2 separate regions of the Homo sapiens genome follow, and region 2 is linked to region 1. The links are contacts of gene promoters, found by promoter capture Hi-C in human tissues and cell types (Jung and others, 2019). All regions are on one chromosome and are shown on one strand. Each heading gives the region's core, a stretch centred on a gene start or on the middle of the fragment in contact. The rest is flanking DNA. Distances are from core to core; before and after follow the strand shown. Region 1 holds the start of SPSB4 (splA/ryanodine receptor domain and SOCS box containing 4). Region 2 has its middle 28 kb from the start of PXYLP1.

Region 1 (7,092 bases), core at 4,356-6,855:
AGGAGAGCAGCAAATGGGATGAAGGAGGTTTGCTAGGCTGTGACCAGGGCAGCAAGCTCTGCAAGGTCATTTGAAAGAGACATACCACTGAGACAGCAAGGCCACGTGCAGTCCGGGCCAGCCCGGTCACCACAGCTGCCCCTGAGCCCAGAGGCCTGCCCCAGGCACATGTGGAGGTTGTTTGCAGGGCAGCTGGATTCCCTGAGGCCCAGCATGTCTGGGCTGGGTCAAAGCATGAAGGGAGAAGATGGGAAGGGTACCATTTAATGAAGCCCTCTGGGGAAAACGATGATGAAAACATGATAAGGTTTGCGTCCAATCCCTCATTTACCTCCCAAGATGAACCTTCTCCACTTGGTATAACTGGTTGTCTGGAAACAGAATGCCTAAAAGAAAAGCAGAACTATTCATGCCTCTGGCTTGAGCCAGGTCATAATAGGGACCTGCTGGGATTTCTGAAGATCCCTCTGTTAAGCCTACAGTATCTCTGGGGGCATTTTTGAGATACTAAGGAGGAAAGGAGAGAGGATGAGAGGAAGAGAGGAGAAAGGGAGCAGGATCGGGGAGGGAGCTGCTCCAGCCCCAGGAATCTGTACAACTTGCACATTTCATAGAATGCAGATAACAGGTAGATGTCTCCTGAAGGTAGATAACAGGTAGAATGTCTCTGTGGCCAGTAAACCGGGCCAAGGCCCACTCACTTCTGGAGAAAGCAGAGCTCCAGTTCACCATACATGACATTTCACAACATTAAAGGTCAGATGGATGACTTTGGCACTGCTCCAGCGTCTCCCACCACACATACCAGCACATTGAAGTGTAGAGCTTACCACAGCAGCTTTCCTGCCTCCTCCTGGCTCCAATGTCTTCCTGCCTACCCCATCAATGGGGCACCCCCAAGTCCATTGCTTCAACTTCAGTTTCCGCTTTTCACTCTCTCTCTCCATGCATCTTCTCTTATGACCTGCATCTCCAGCCCCGTGCAGACACTCTCAAGCCGGGTCTCCAGTGCTGCCTTCTCTCCTCAGCACAAGACCTACCTACTAGAAGCCCCTGGTCAGCCCTGCCTGGGTGTTGTTTCAAATGACCTTGTAAGGCCAGCTGACCTCTTTCCATCATAAGCCTCCTACCATGGGCACACCCACACTCTCAGCCCTGCGGGACATCTGTGGTCCATGTGCACCTCGGAATCTGCAGGTCCTAGGCTGAGCCTGGCCTCTTCCCTCTCTCACATGCCAGGTTCCTCTGCATGTCACTGTTCCTGCCATGGATCCCGTCTCTTGGTCCCCACCACTCAACCCCGTCAGCTTTCCCCTAGTTCAGAACTTGCCTGGATTACTCCACTGGTCTCTTAGCAGGCTTCCCTGACTCCACTGTTTGCCCGCCAACCCACTCTCCATGCTGCCAACAGGTAAGTTGGACCAAGACACCCACCAATCTCTTCATTCAACCCTCCAGGCAGCTTCTCCAGAGAGAAGCTGCACCTCTTTGCTTGGCACCCAGGGGCCCTCCAGGCTGCTCTTATTTCTTCCACACTGTCTGTCATCACGGCCCACCTCAGACCAGTCATGCCAGACTCTCCTCGTCAGCACATCCTGGGACTCTTCCCATCTTCTCTGACCTGGCTGACATTCTCTCACTCCCCTGCCCCTTCTAGCAGAAGCAGAACTGGGCACCCCTCCGTGGCAGCCCCTCAGCCCACTACATCCTCTTCCCTCCGCCCCATTATGTCCTCTTGCCTACGTCCCACTGCACCCTCTGCCCTCCAACCCACTTTGTCTTCATCTTAGCTGTTGATTCCTGCTGCTATCTCTTGCACCACATCTGCATTTCTTAATGGAGCCAGTGCCCAACCAGCCTTTATCTCCAATACTCGTACACAGCCTTGTACCTGTTACCTCTGGCTGCATTAAGACGTGCTTGTCAGACTGAAGAAGGACTAGCCACTCTATACCTCCTGCATGGTTTGCATTTTTTTTTTTTTTTTGAGACGGAGTCTCGCTCTGTTGCCCAGGCTGGAGTGCAGTGGTGCCATCTCGGCTCACTGCAAGCTCTGCGTCCCAGGTTCATGCCATTCTCCTGCCTCAGCCTCCCCAGCAGCTGGGACTACAGGCGCAAGCCGCCACGCCGGGCTAATTTTTTGTATTTTTAGTAGAGACGGGGTTTCACTGTGTTAGCCAGGATAGTCTCGATCTCCTGACCTTGCGATCCCCCCGCCTCGGCCTCCCAAAGTGCTGGGATTACGGGCATGAACCACCACACGTATACATTTTAAATGGAGTAAGTTCTGAACTCAATGTGTGAAGCAAAAATCACATGCAATCAACACTGCTTAGGAAAGTTCTTCTAAAGTTCCACACAAAGTTCATGATAACTGGTTTGAGGTATACCACCTCTTTCCCAAAGGGCACACCACCCACAACTGTTTTTCCTATAGCCTCAAAACAAATCCCTATTTCTTGAACTGATCAGCAGCAAATAAATTAGTTGGCTTATGTAGGAACCATGTTTTATTAAAAACGTGTTGCTGGTTTAAAAATTTTTTATAGTTGATCTTTTCTTACCACAGATGGTCATGTTCACATAAATCAAGAGTACATACTATGTACTTATATAGTACATATATAGGCAGAGACTTCTGGTGACCTCCATCTACGGCCTGCCACTCCCCTGATTTTCATGCCCAAGACCCTTCACTCCTGTATCAACAGAGAAAAAACCTTTCTAGAGCATGGATGTGTGACAACAGGTCGGGCAGCTCAGGGGAAATTAAGTAACTCCTGTATGGTGAGTTGTACTAGGTCTTTCCCCAAAAGGGCAAGGAATTCTGCACTGGCCACTGTGGCTTGGCCACTTTCTGGGATAGAAATGAAGCCCTTCCAAGGACAGTTCTACGTAAATGATGAGGAAGTTTCAGTTGTATGAAAAACTAGGAGGAAAAGTATTCTAGGCAGGGGAACAGCAAGTGAATGAGCCTTTGGAGTGTTGGAGTAAAAGGAAGAAGGCTAGGAGGGTGGGTAGTGGGGGAGAGGAAAATGGTGAGGAAGAGGTGGAGAAGGGCAGTACCAGACCTGAGGACCCCTGGGATCATCTAGATTTTACTCTGTGGCAGCCTTAAGGAGGTCCTGAGCTAGGGAGAAATGTGATCTACATTTTTAAAAGATGCTTCTGATAAATGGTTATGACTACTTGCTAATTTGATACATTAAAAAAAAATCTTGTAATTTTAACTTGCATTTTTCGTATTGAGGTAAGGTATCTTGTCATATGTTTTGGTATCATTTCTATTTTATTTCGCATGTATGAATCGTGTCTTTGCCCATTTGATCTTTTGTTTGTTGACCTCAGGAATCTCTTACATATTTAAAGAGATGAGCCTGTTGTGATAGGAGTGGTATATGTCATATGTGACAGTTTGTCATATATCTTTTGACTGTTTCTGGTGATTTCTTTTCCTTGCAGATTTTATTTTTATATCATTAAATATATCTTTAAAATAAACGAGAAATACAAACTGGAGAGATATTTGGGTAGAAGGTCCAGTAAGTTGAATTTTGTTTGTGATTTGCCAAAGGTGGCTTAAATTCTTTTCATTACCATTTTTAAAAATGGAATAAATTAGAGGGTATGTGTCTCAGAGGAATATGCCCTTGGGTAAAGGATGTTTATATCATGCTTTTACACATTTTACGTCTTCCAGACTTAAGCTCATCAAATTGCGCGGGTGGGGGGCAGGGGGCCAGAAAGGGGGTGGGAGGATAGAGGGCTCAGAGTCTGAGAGAAAGGAACTCCTATCTTCATCCCCCAACCCCCCAAGGAGGAGAGTGGGGCGCAGAAGAGGAAACCAAGCGGGGGGAGGTTAGAGAACTTGCCCAAGGTCACACCGCGAGCTGGTGGTGGAGACAGATTCGAACCCAAGCCTGACTCCAGAACTGAGAACTCTCCACCTTCTCGCGACAGCGGTACAGAAAAGTGCCCTCCTCTCCTTCCTGCCGGCAGCCGTCTGCGCTTGGCCATGGGCCGGCGGGAGCAGCCACTCCCCCGGTTCTCCCGCCAGTCAGAGGTCGGGGGCTCGGCGTCCCCTTCTGGCTTGGAGCCCCTGGCGCGTACAGAGCGACCAGGGCGGACACATTTGCCGCGCTCAAGTCTCTGACCCCCTCCCTCCTTCCCAGAGCCCTGCGCCTAGGGTTTCCTGAGCTCCCAACCCCCTCCCTTCCCGAGCATAGACAAGTTTGTATTCAAGCAAGGCCAGGACTGGTCCCTGAGTCGCTCTCGGGCCAGGCGACCAGCCTCACTGCCCCAGAGTCAGGAATAAACGGTAACAACAGCCACCGGTGCCTATTGCGTGACCCGTGCTTTACTTCCACCTCTCCGAATACCCCGGACGAACAGACCCCCAGGAATTATTGTCCCCATTACACGGACGACGGAACTGCTGCAGCTTCGGAAAGTTGGATAACAAGCTTGGGCTCGCAAAGCTAATAATAATACTAGCTAACATATGATTGAGTGTTTCCTGTGTGCCCAGCACATGTCTACCTACGAACACCATCCCATAGATCTTTCCAATACCCCTATAAAATGTGCACAATTATCATTCCCATCCTACGGATGAGGAAACAGGTTTGGCGCCCTGTCCAAGGTCACTCAGCCAGTGAGTGACGGATCCTGGATCCAAACCAAAGCGGGTGAATCGGATGGCAGTTTTTTGTGCGTTGTCCGCTACGCAGAGAAGCAAAGGGCTTAGAACCCATGATACCAAAGGCCGGGCCCCAAACGCCCCAGGGCTGCGCGCAAATCAACCATCTCGAACTGCCACAACCTGCAGAGAGGAATTCTCAGGGACTGGGACGTCAGGAGCGCCAGCTGTGTCGAGTGCTGGCCCGCACAAAGTCCGTGCAGCCGGATCTCGGCTCCCGGCCCCCGCGCGCCCCTCACCAGGAGCTGGAGAGTACTTACCATAAAAGAGAGGGCAAGCGCCTGTTCGGGAAGAATCCCCAGCGCTGGCAGGTCCTGGACTCCCTGGAGAGGGGTCTGCTGCCGCCGCCGCCCACTCAGGGGCGCCCGAGTGACCCGCAAATGCCGGCTCTCTCCGCACGGCCAGGGGCGCGTCCTCACGGCTGATGCCCGGCAGCAGCGCCCCCTCTGCGCTGCAGGATGGCCTGGAGTTAGGAGCGTTCTTGGCGAAGTTGGCGCTCAGGCGCCGGGGGTCGGGCCTGGAGTGGGGAAGCGCCTTACTGAAGCGATCCTGGGGGCGCTCCAAGGCCCGCGCTCTAGCCGCTTGGAAGCTTGGCGCCTGACCCGGAGGGCGACGAGTCCCGCGCTCAGGGCGCACGGGCCGCGCCTCGGCCGCTGGCCCCCGGCGCGCCGGGCGTCTTCCCCAGCGCCCTGAGCGCACGCAGCGGTAGCAGCAGCTGGGGCCCGGGCCCGGGATGTGGTGTGTTCATCGCCCTCCCCTGGGGCTGGGTGCTTTTGTGCGCGGGGCGCGCCGGCCGCCACGGCCAGCTCTGGATGCTGCAGCCGCCGCCGCCTCCCCCTCCTCCGCCGCCGCCGCCCGCTCCCCGCCTTCCCGGCCGGCCCGGAGGCTGCAGCTGAAAGCCGATCTGGCTGAGCTCATCCCTGAAGGCCACTAATCCAATAGCCGCGGAAGGCGCGGTCGCCGGGAACGCCCCTTCCCCCACCATCCCGCGCCCCGGCCGTCCCAGCTCGGGCCGCTGCCGGCGCCGCCACCTTCTCGAGGCCACCAGCTGGCGGGAGAGGGAAGTGGAGCCCGCGCCCGCGCCCCTGTGCCAAGGCGGCGGCGCGGTCGCCATTCACTCACCCGCCCACTCGCCCGCTCACTCCCTAGCTCTCGCATTCATTCCTGCGCGCGGGTCCTCCCGGATTCATTCAAGCGCTCCTGGAGCGCCAGGGTGGGTGCCCCTGACGGGGAGGAGACACCCAGTCACTAGGCAGCTTTGGTGCCTTTACTCAACGCACGTGGGAAATAGCAGCCAGGAGGAAAAAAGGGTGGTTTATTATCCCCCTTCCTCAGACACACACGTCCACACTTTATTTTTGAGATCAGGCTCCAACTCATCTCTTAAAGTCCAATTTCATACCGCACCTGCTCAAGGAGCGTTCCCCGCCCACCCGAGGCGCAGGAAGTCGGTCTCTTTGCTCTACCAGCGCTGATGGTGGGCCGCCTCATTGGGAGCCTGAACTGAGCGATGGGGTAAAGGGCGTGGCCAAAACAGAAGCCTCGAGGGTGCTTCTGGTATCTGCGCTTCCTTGGGGAAATTGAAAGTTCTTGGTTTGGTGGCCCTCGTCTGTGCTCCCAGAATTGACTTTAGGTCCATTACGCAGTCATTTGCTAACCCAATCCCTCTCTGTGCCAGGTACCAGGCAGAGTCTAGATGCAGACAGAGTCTAGATGCAGACAGAGTCTAGATGCAGAGTGCGCATTTCATCAAGGACATGGAAAACAAGTAAAGACAATCCAACTCTATGAAGGAAACGTTTTGAGAGAGGTTCTGGGGCGAATTTGTCAGACTGGAAAGGGCAACTGGGAATGTTTCCTAGTAAATGTGTCTACATGAATTAGCTCCTGGAGGCAGGGGTACAACATGGTCACCTGGAGAGCTACCTATCACAGCACAGAGCCTGTGCTATGAGCAGAGGGGGTATGACGGAACTGGAGGGATGGACGGTGTCTAGGGTCTTGGGTGGAGACTGTATCAAGAGCTTGACCTTCCCCATCACTTTGGGAGGCCTTTAACCAGGGTAGTGACCTTGTCGGATTTGCATTCCAGAAAGACCTCTTAGCAGCCAACTGGATGGATGGATGGAGGAAACCAGGTTGGCAGCTACTGTAATAGTCTAAGCATAAGATGATGCTTTATGAACCAAGATAACCATGATGAGGTGACAAAAGTGTGTATTGACACGTATTTATTGTACTTATTCTAACGTTTCATCACTGTCTGTTTGCATGTCTGCCCCTCCTAAAACTGTGAGCCCCCCCTGGAGGGCAAGTATAGGTACCTCACACATCTCTGGATGCCCTGCACCAGCATAGGATAGATGCTGAGGACAGTGAATGTGATTTGAACT
Region 2 (7,426 bases), core at 1,232-3,731, 150 kb before region 1:
AGAAGATTTGGGAAGGAGTCAGTCAGAGAGCCTTGGGCCAGAGTTCCAGGGGCTCTGGGAGTGGCTGCCCCACGAATTGAACAGTCTGATTTTCAGTGGGGTCCCGCACAGATGGGACATGGCTTAGGAGGAATCCCAGGCTGCGGGCATTCCTTGGCCTGATGGCCAGATTTCTGGCACTTGTAGGAAGCTCCTGGGGGAGGCGGGCCTGGAGGAATGCCTGGCCACTGCGGTTTAGGCATTTGGAAGTTCTTGTGTGCTGGAGATGTGGCTGGGGTTTGTCTCACAGTGGAGGCAAGGAATTGCAACTCAAATATGTTGCTACTTGGCTGCCTCTACTTTATTATTGTACACCTTGAAGGTGAGGTTAATTAAGTCCTGTTGTGGGGTTTGAGGGCCGGAATTTAATTTTTGGAGTTTTATTTAATTTTGGGAGCAGATTGAGTAATAAAATGTATATTGAGAATAAGACGGCCTTTTGACCTTTCAGGGTCTAGGGCTGTAAAGCATCTCAGGGTTGCTGCCAAAAGAGCCATGAACTGGGCTGGGTTTTTATATTTGACAAAAAAGAGCCTAAACACTCTCTGATTTGGGATAAGGAAAAGGAGAATTAACCTTGACTATGCCTTTAGATCCAGCCACCTTTTTAAGAGGAAATTGCTGGGCAGGTTGGGGAGGGCTAGTCACGGAACGAAACTCTAAGCCAGACCAGGTGTGAGGAGGGAAGGTGATTAAAGGATTATAGGATGGAGGAGCGGAGGCTGAGGAAGAATTGGGACCTAGCTCGGCCTGGCAAGGAGGGGAGAGGTCAGATGGGTCTGTAGAAAAGGAAGATTAGAAGGACTCAGCGACACTTGGGGTTGGGACTGAAGGGACAGGTGGGAGGGAAAGAAGGAAGATTTGGGACAAGCTGCATTGGGAACAGAGACTAGGGAGGGACTGATGTGTAAAAGAGTGCCTGGATGCCAGGCACCTCAGACCGTTTGCCTATTTTATGACAAGAATTATTTAGATCTTGTAGGATGGAAAAATTGAAAGTGCCGTTTTCTGGCTATTTGGAACCGCTGTCGAGTTTGTACTGGGGTCAAGCAGCATTGTAGAAGAAAATAAGGCATTTAGGTTTTAGGTCAGGTGTGAGTTGAAGAGGTTTTAGGTTTTTAAGAACACAGGCTAAGGGAGAAGAAGGGGGAAGAAGCTTGCCCATAGTGAAGGAGGCAAGCCCAGAGAAAAGAGAGAGTAGAGACACGGAGAGAAGGGGTGGGGGGGCTCTTGTCCTCCAGAAAAGTGGAAAAGGGGTCAGGGCACAGAAATAAGGGATCGGGGTGCAGAGATAAGAGGTTGGGGCACAGAAATAAGGGATTGGGGTGCAGAGATAAGAGGTCGGGGTGTGGAAATAAGGGATCAGGGCACAGAGATAAGAGGTTGGGGTGTGGAAATAAGGGATTGGGGGGTTCTTGCCCCCAGAAAAGCAGAGAAGGGGTAGAGACATGGAGAGAAGGGGTTGGGGGGTTCTTGCCCCCTAGAAAAGCGGTACTTGCCACTAAGGGTGAAGGAGAAGGATTTGGGGGTTTCTTGCCCCCCAGAAAAGCAGAGAAGGGGTAGAGACAGGGAGAGAAGGGGTGGGGGTCCTTGCCCCTCCCCCAGAAAAGCAGGACTTGCTGCTAAGGGTGAAGGACCAAGGCAGGTGTCCCTGCGTGGTCAGACACCTCTGAAACGTGGGTGAATAATCAGGCAGGTTTCCCCCCCATGATTAAACATCAAGGGAAGACTGTCTTCCTGAGTCTGTGACCGGCACCGGAGTTTTGGGTCCACGGATAAAACGCATCTCTCTTCATCTGTACCAGAAAAGGAAAGGAACTGAAATTAAGAGAAGGGAGAGATTGAAGGGTGGTGCCAAGATTGAAAGGAGAAAGTGGTTGAGGGATAGTGGGAGACGTTGGAGAAGAGAATAAGAAGAGGCCACTTACCTGATTTAAAATTGGTGAGATGTTCCTTGGGCTGGTGGGTCTGAGGACCCGAGGTCGTAGGTGGATCTTTTTCACAGAGCAAAAAGCAGGAGGACAGGGGATTGATCTCCCAAGGGAGGTCCCCTGATCCGAGTCACAGCACCAAATTTCGTGCTTGTCCATGTGAGGAGACCACCAAACAGGCTTTGTGTGAGCAATAAAGCTTTTAATCACCTGGGTGCAGGTGGGCTAAGTCCGAAAAGAGAGTCAGCAAAGGGAGATAGGGGTGGGGCCGTTTTATAAGATTTGGGTAGGTAAAGGAAAATTACAGTCAAAGGGGGTTGTTCTCTGGTGGGCAGGAGTGGGGGTCACAAGGTGCTCAGTAGGGGAGCTTTTGAGCCAGGATGAGCCAGAAGGAACTTCACAAGATAATGTCATCAGTTAAGGCAGGAACAGGCCATTTCCACTTCTTTTGTGGTGGAATGTCATCAGTTAAGGCAGGAACTGGCCATCTGGATGTGTACGTGCAGGTCACAGGGGATATGATGGCTTAGCTTGGGCTCAGAGGCCTGACAGACATACAGAAATCAGAAATGAGGTACAGGTACAGCTTGGTGTTTGCCTTATTTGAACAGTATGAACGCTCAGCAATGACTGAATGGTTGAAGTACAGCTGCTGGAATTGGCCAAGACTTAGCTATTGTTACAGGCACATACTCCTAAGTTAGATTTTCAATCTTGTCTACCTATTAAACTAGGCTGCAGTTCGTCCGCAAGGACTTAACTATAGGAGTACAGAATCCTTCTCAGGCCACCATATTTAGTTCACTTTAACAGCAGCTTCAGTACAGCTCTGTCACCCTCATTCCTGCTCAGTGCTGACACATCCTACCCTCCTGGGCACTTCCCTCTCACCGCCTCCCTCCTCACTGCAGGTCCTGTCCTCACCCTGGAGTCTCCAGTGCCCAGAGGCTGACCCATCCAATATCCTAGCCTCTGGGGCTGCAGACAGCCAGGGCCTTCATTTGTCTTCTGCCTCAGCCACTCACACCCACAGCCACACTGCAGACCTCCCCATTACAGAGCCCCACTCCACCAGCAGCATCTCACATCCACATGTCACACTCTCGGAACAGTCCCTCCCTCCTTCATTATCACCACACCTGTCCCTCACCCTGCTGAAGACAATTGAGAAGAAACAGATACATGGAAAGACCTCTGCCCTCTATTTATCTAAAAGTAGGAAATAGATTTGTAAAAGTGTCCCACCTCTCCTGTCTACCAGGAGGGACAGGAGTTGATCACTAGAGACAACTGTAAACCAAAAATAAAATTCTAAGCCTCGCAACCAATGAATAGACACCTCCTCTTAGCTAGGGGGAGTCCAGGGAAACCTGAAAGACTAGTTCACGCCATGATGGGAAGGTGGGGAGGTCAGACATGCCTCATTATACTCTCCTCCCTTTGGAACTCAGGCACAACTGACCATCATTAACGTGAAAACAGAGATCTTAAGAGGGAGAAAACAGACTGTTTATAGCAGTAAGTTACCAAATTCCAATCCGACTCTAGTATAGCATCACATAACAGATAGCAGGCCCTGAAAGAAATAAAAATATTTTACCCCAAAATATATTTCTTTGAGATACTCTTAAATTGCCCTGCCAAGGGAGAAATTTATATTCTGTAGAGAATCTCTTTCCCTTTCCAGGTCTTTTTCTGATCCTAAAGAAATTAGCTGAGAGTCTAGCACATTTTTAAAGGTCTGAATAGAAAACATTTGCCATCTATTGCCTCTAAGAGTGGCCACCTGTGAGACTTCATCTACATAATAAGAACCTTGGTCTCTACAAGCCCTTATTCTAGCCTGGATACTTCTTTCTATTGATTCCAGGTCTTTAGATAAAAACTTAATTCTTTCAAGCAATTGCCAATAAGAAAATCACTCCCTCACCCATTTTGAATTTTCCCACCTTTCAGGACCAAACAAATGTGTACATTACATATATTGATTGATGCCTTATGTCTCCCTAAAACATATAAAATCAAGCTGTAACCCATCCACCTTGGGCATATGTTCTCAGGACCTCCTGATGCTGTGTCACAGGTCATGGTCCTCACATTTGGATCAGAATAAATCTCTTCAGATATTTCACAAAGTTTGGCTTTTTCATCAACACAACTCTGGACCTAAAAGCCTGGAGATGGCACGAGAGGAATCTACATAATGAAACATAAGCCATGTAGGTCATAAATGATTATATTTGTAGACATTTTGGTGCCTTAATATCAGCAAGGGTTGCACAATGAGTTTCCATATGCATGAATTGCAGAGATGTGCAGAAATTCTAGTTACTTATAATATTTTGGGAAAGAAACCTGGAACAGATGCCTGCTTTAGATAATAAGAAGGCCTAATTACTTCTGAATTCCTCAGATAACGTGTTTTGCCTCTGGATAGCCTGCTTGATGGTAACCAGGTGATCTTTGCTCTCCTCAGATTATAGCAGAGACTGCCGGTTGCATTCCTGCAGCTATCCTCCCCTTTTACCTGGTAACAGATTCCTGATATTTCTAAATATGGGCAAATGGCTGTCCACAATAAAGGTATTTCCTAGCCTTCCTTGCAAGTGGTTGTGGTCATGTGACCTAGTTCTAGCCATTGAGAAGTGAAAGTGTCATGCGGGACTTCTAGGCTCCTTCAAAGAAGCTCAGTTAACTTGGAGTCACATCCTTGTCCCTCTCCCCCTTTCTCCTTTTCACCGTCTGGAATGAGGTGTAATGCCTGACTTCACTGCCATCTTGGATCACAAGAAGATTTTTAAGGATGACAGTCACATGTAGAGGAGCAAAAAGACGGGAGCAGTCTGGATCCTCGATAACTTAGTAGAGCCTCAAGATCTGCCATGGATGCTTATCTGGACTTCTTTTATGAGAGAAGAAAAACAAACAAACAAAACGGAATACCCCTGTGTGTTGGGTCTGTTACCAGGAGCTGAAATTAATCCCGATGTAACTCTCTTCCACCTGCCCAAATAAATGCATGCTCTCTCCCTGCCACAAACCTTCCTCCTCCTGCATGTCCTATCCCAGTGAAACGAACCGTTTCTCCTTCTTTGCCCATTTTTGGTTCACCTCTTGTTTAGACCAGAAACCAGGACTCTCCTTTGACTCCCTTATATCTCTTCATACCCAGTCAAAGATCAAATCTTGTCCTTCCTACCTCATGACTTTATCTCAGGGCAGTGATTCAGGTCATCAAAAACTATCACCCCATAGCCAATAGACCTCTGGGCCATGGTGTTCAGAGGCTGCTGAATGCCAGCAGCTCTCCTGGGTGCTAGATCTGGCTTGCCTTAAACAAAAAAAAGGAGGGTGTCTGGGGGCTGGATGGAGGGAGGAAGAGTCCCTAAATGGGACATGAGGCCCCAGGGTCATTCTTCTCTGCCCCACTAAGGGCCCAGCTATCTGGGGTGGTGTCACAGCCAAGGAAAGTTCCAGGCCAAATCTTAGCTTTTGTTTTTTGAATCTGCTGCAGCACTCCCTTCCTGGGGACTTCCCTGTTTTTCCCCAGAGTTACTTCCAGACATTTCTTCTTGGGGAGACTTAATTAGCAACTATAGGCTGTGTATGTGTAACACAGGTAAGGGCAATCAGGGCCCCAGGCACCCATGGGTTTAATTTTTTATCTATTGAGCACCTATTATGTGCCAGGCACTGTGCTGGCAGCCTCTGACATCCCTTCTGGGGAGAGTTTATCATGACTATTTTATAGTTGGAAACACTGAGACTCAGAGAGGTGAAATGATTTTCCCAGGGCTGCACAGCTCAAAAGGAAGGGGCCTGGGATTGTCCCTGGGTCTGATTCCAAATCGCTGCTCTTTCTCACCTCACCAATTATCCTAAACCTGTATAAACATCTCCATCACCTGCAGAGCTATTAAAAATTCTGATTCTAAGGCCAAACCCTATAGATTTGGCTTCAGTTGTTTTGGGCTAGAGCTGGGAGTTTTTGTTTTGTGTGTTTGTTTGTTTGTTTTATAAGTACCTGGGTCTCCCAGGTAATCCTGATGCTCAGCAGGTCTGGGATCAGCCCCTGCATCATGTCTGGCTGACTCCCAGTGGAAGGAGAAGCTGCCACGCCCCCTGTACAGCAGCGAGGAGGAGCTAGCTCGGTTGGCTCTGATGGGGCAACTGCAACCCTGCACAGAGTAGTAGCAGGCCCAGCAGATTCTGAGTAAAATTGCCAGGGCCAGGAGACAGACCCTTTGCTATTCCTACTCAATACTTGTTTCAGAGATTGTTGCCTTAAATTATTTGTGCATTTGACCAAATCTAGTCATTCTTTGTCCCAGCCAACCCACACAGAGAAGTCAAGTGAAGGTGCTGTATACAATATCTGCATCATGTCCCTGTTTGAATGTTTTCATGGGCTCCTCCTTATATGAGTGAAGTTCCTGGTCCCAGAGTAGCCCGACCTCCTGCTCCTGCCTTCTTCTCTCTGGCTTGTCTGCTGCAGAATTCTTCATATCCAGATTCTACTGCAGCTTAAATATTCCCTCTTCCAGGGAGCCTTGGGTGGCCTATCCCTCAGTCCTTTCTTGTCTTGCTAGAACACTTGCCATTGTCCAACCATCCATCTATACACTCATCCATCCATCCATCCATCCATCCATCCATCCATCCATCCATCTATCTACTCACCAATCCATCCACCTATACCCTTACCCATCCACCCAGCTATTCATCCATCTATCTATCCATTTACCTATCTCCCCACTTATCTGCACTTCCATCTCCTCTGCTGTGTCCTGTAAGCTTCACATTTATGTCCTAACAACACAGTAGAGGTCATTCCTTAAGGTCATAGAGTAGATCTTTTTTTTTTAACTTTTAAGTTCAGGGGTACAAGTGCATGTTGTTACATAGGTAAACTTGTGTCATGGGGTTTGTTGTACAGACTATTTCATCACCTGGGTATCAAGCCTAGTACCCATTAGTTATTTTTCCTGATCTTCTCCCTCCTCCACCCTCACCTTCTGAAAGGCCCCAGTGTGTTCTCTATGTGTCCAGATGTTCTTATCATTTAGTTCCGACTTAGGAGTGAGAAAATGCAATATTTGGTTTTATGTTCCTGTGTTAGTTTGCTAAGGATAATGGCCTCTAGTTCCATCCATGTCCCTGAAAAAGACATCATCTCTTTCTTTTTATTGCTGCAGAGTATTCCATGGTGTATATGTGCCACATTTTCTTTATCCAGTCTATCATTGATGGTCATTTAGGTTGATTCCATGCCTTTGCTATTGTGAATAGTGCTGCAGTGAACATACATGTGTATGTGTCTTTATAATAGAATGATTTATATTCCTTTGGGTATATATCCAGCAATGGGATTGCTGGGTCGAATAGTATTTCTGTCTTTAGGTCTTTGAGGAATTGTTACACTGCCTTCCACAATGGCTGAACTAATTTACACTCCC

Evidence for each region. Contacts are between HindIII fragments. The study calls those that stand out against the background at their distance.
Region 2: a contact is called between a fragment that was not itself captured here and the fragment with the promoter of SPSB4 in region 1, in 1 of the 25 tissues and cell types used here (aorta).

The regions. Positions count from the first base shown.
Region 1 is chr3:141,049,860-141,056,951 of GRCh38, reverse strand. SPSB4 (splA/ryanodine receptor domain and SOCS box containing 4) reads right to left here and starts at 5,605. Exons shown (of 3, transcript NM_080862.3): 1 at 4,960-5,605. The HindIII fragment of the contact is 7,949 bases long and covers 4,877-7,092 here.
Region 2 is chr3:141,199,996-141,207,421 of GRCh38, reverse strand. No RefSeq gene overlaps it. Among named protein-coding and RNA genes, the nearest start is that of PXYLP1, 28 kb to the left of the region's middle. RefSeq lists enhancers at 128-629, 2,134-2,644. The HindIII fragment of the contact is 3,972 bases long and covers 496-4,467 here.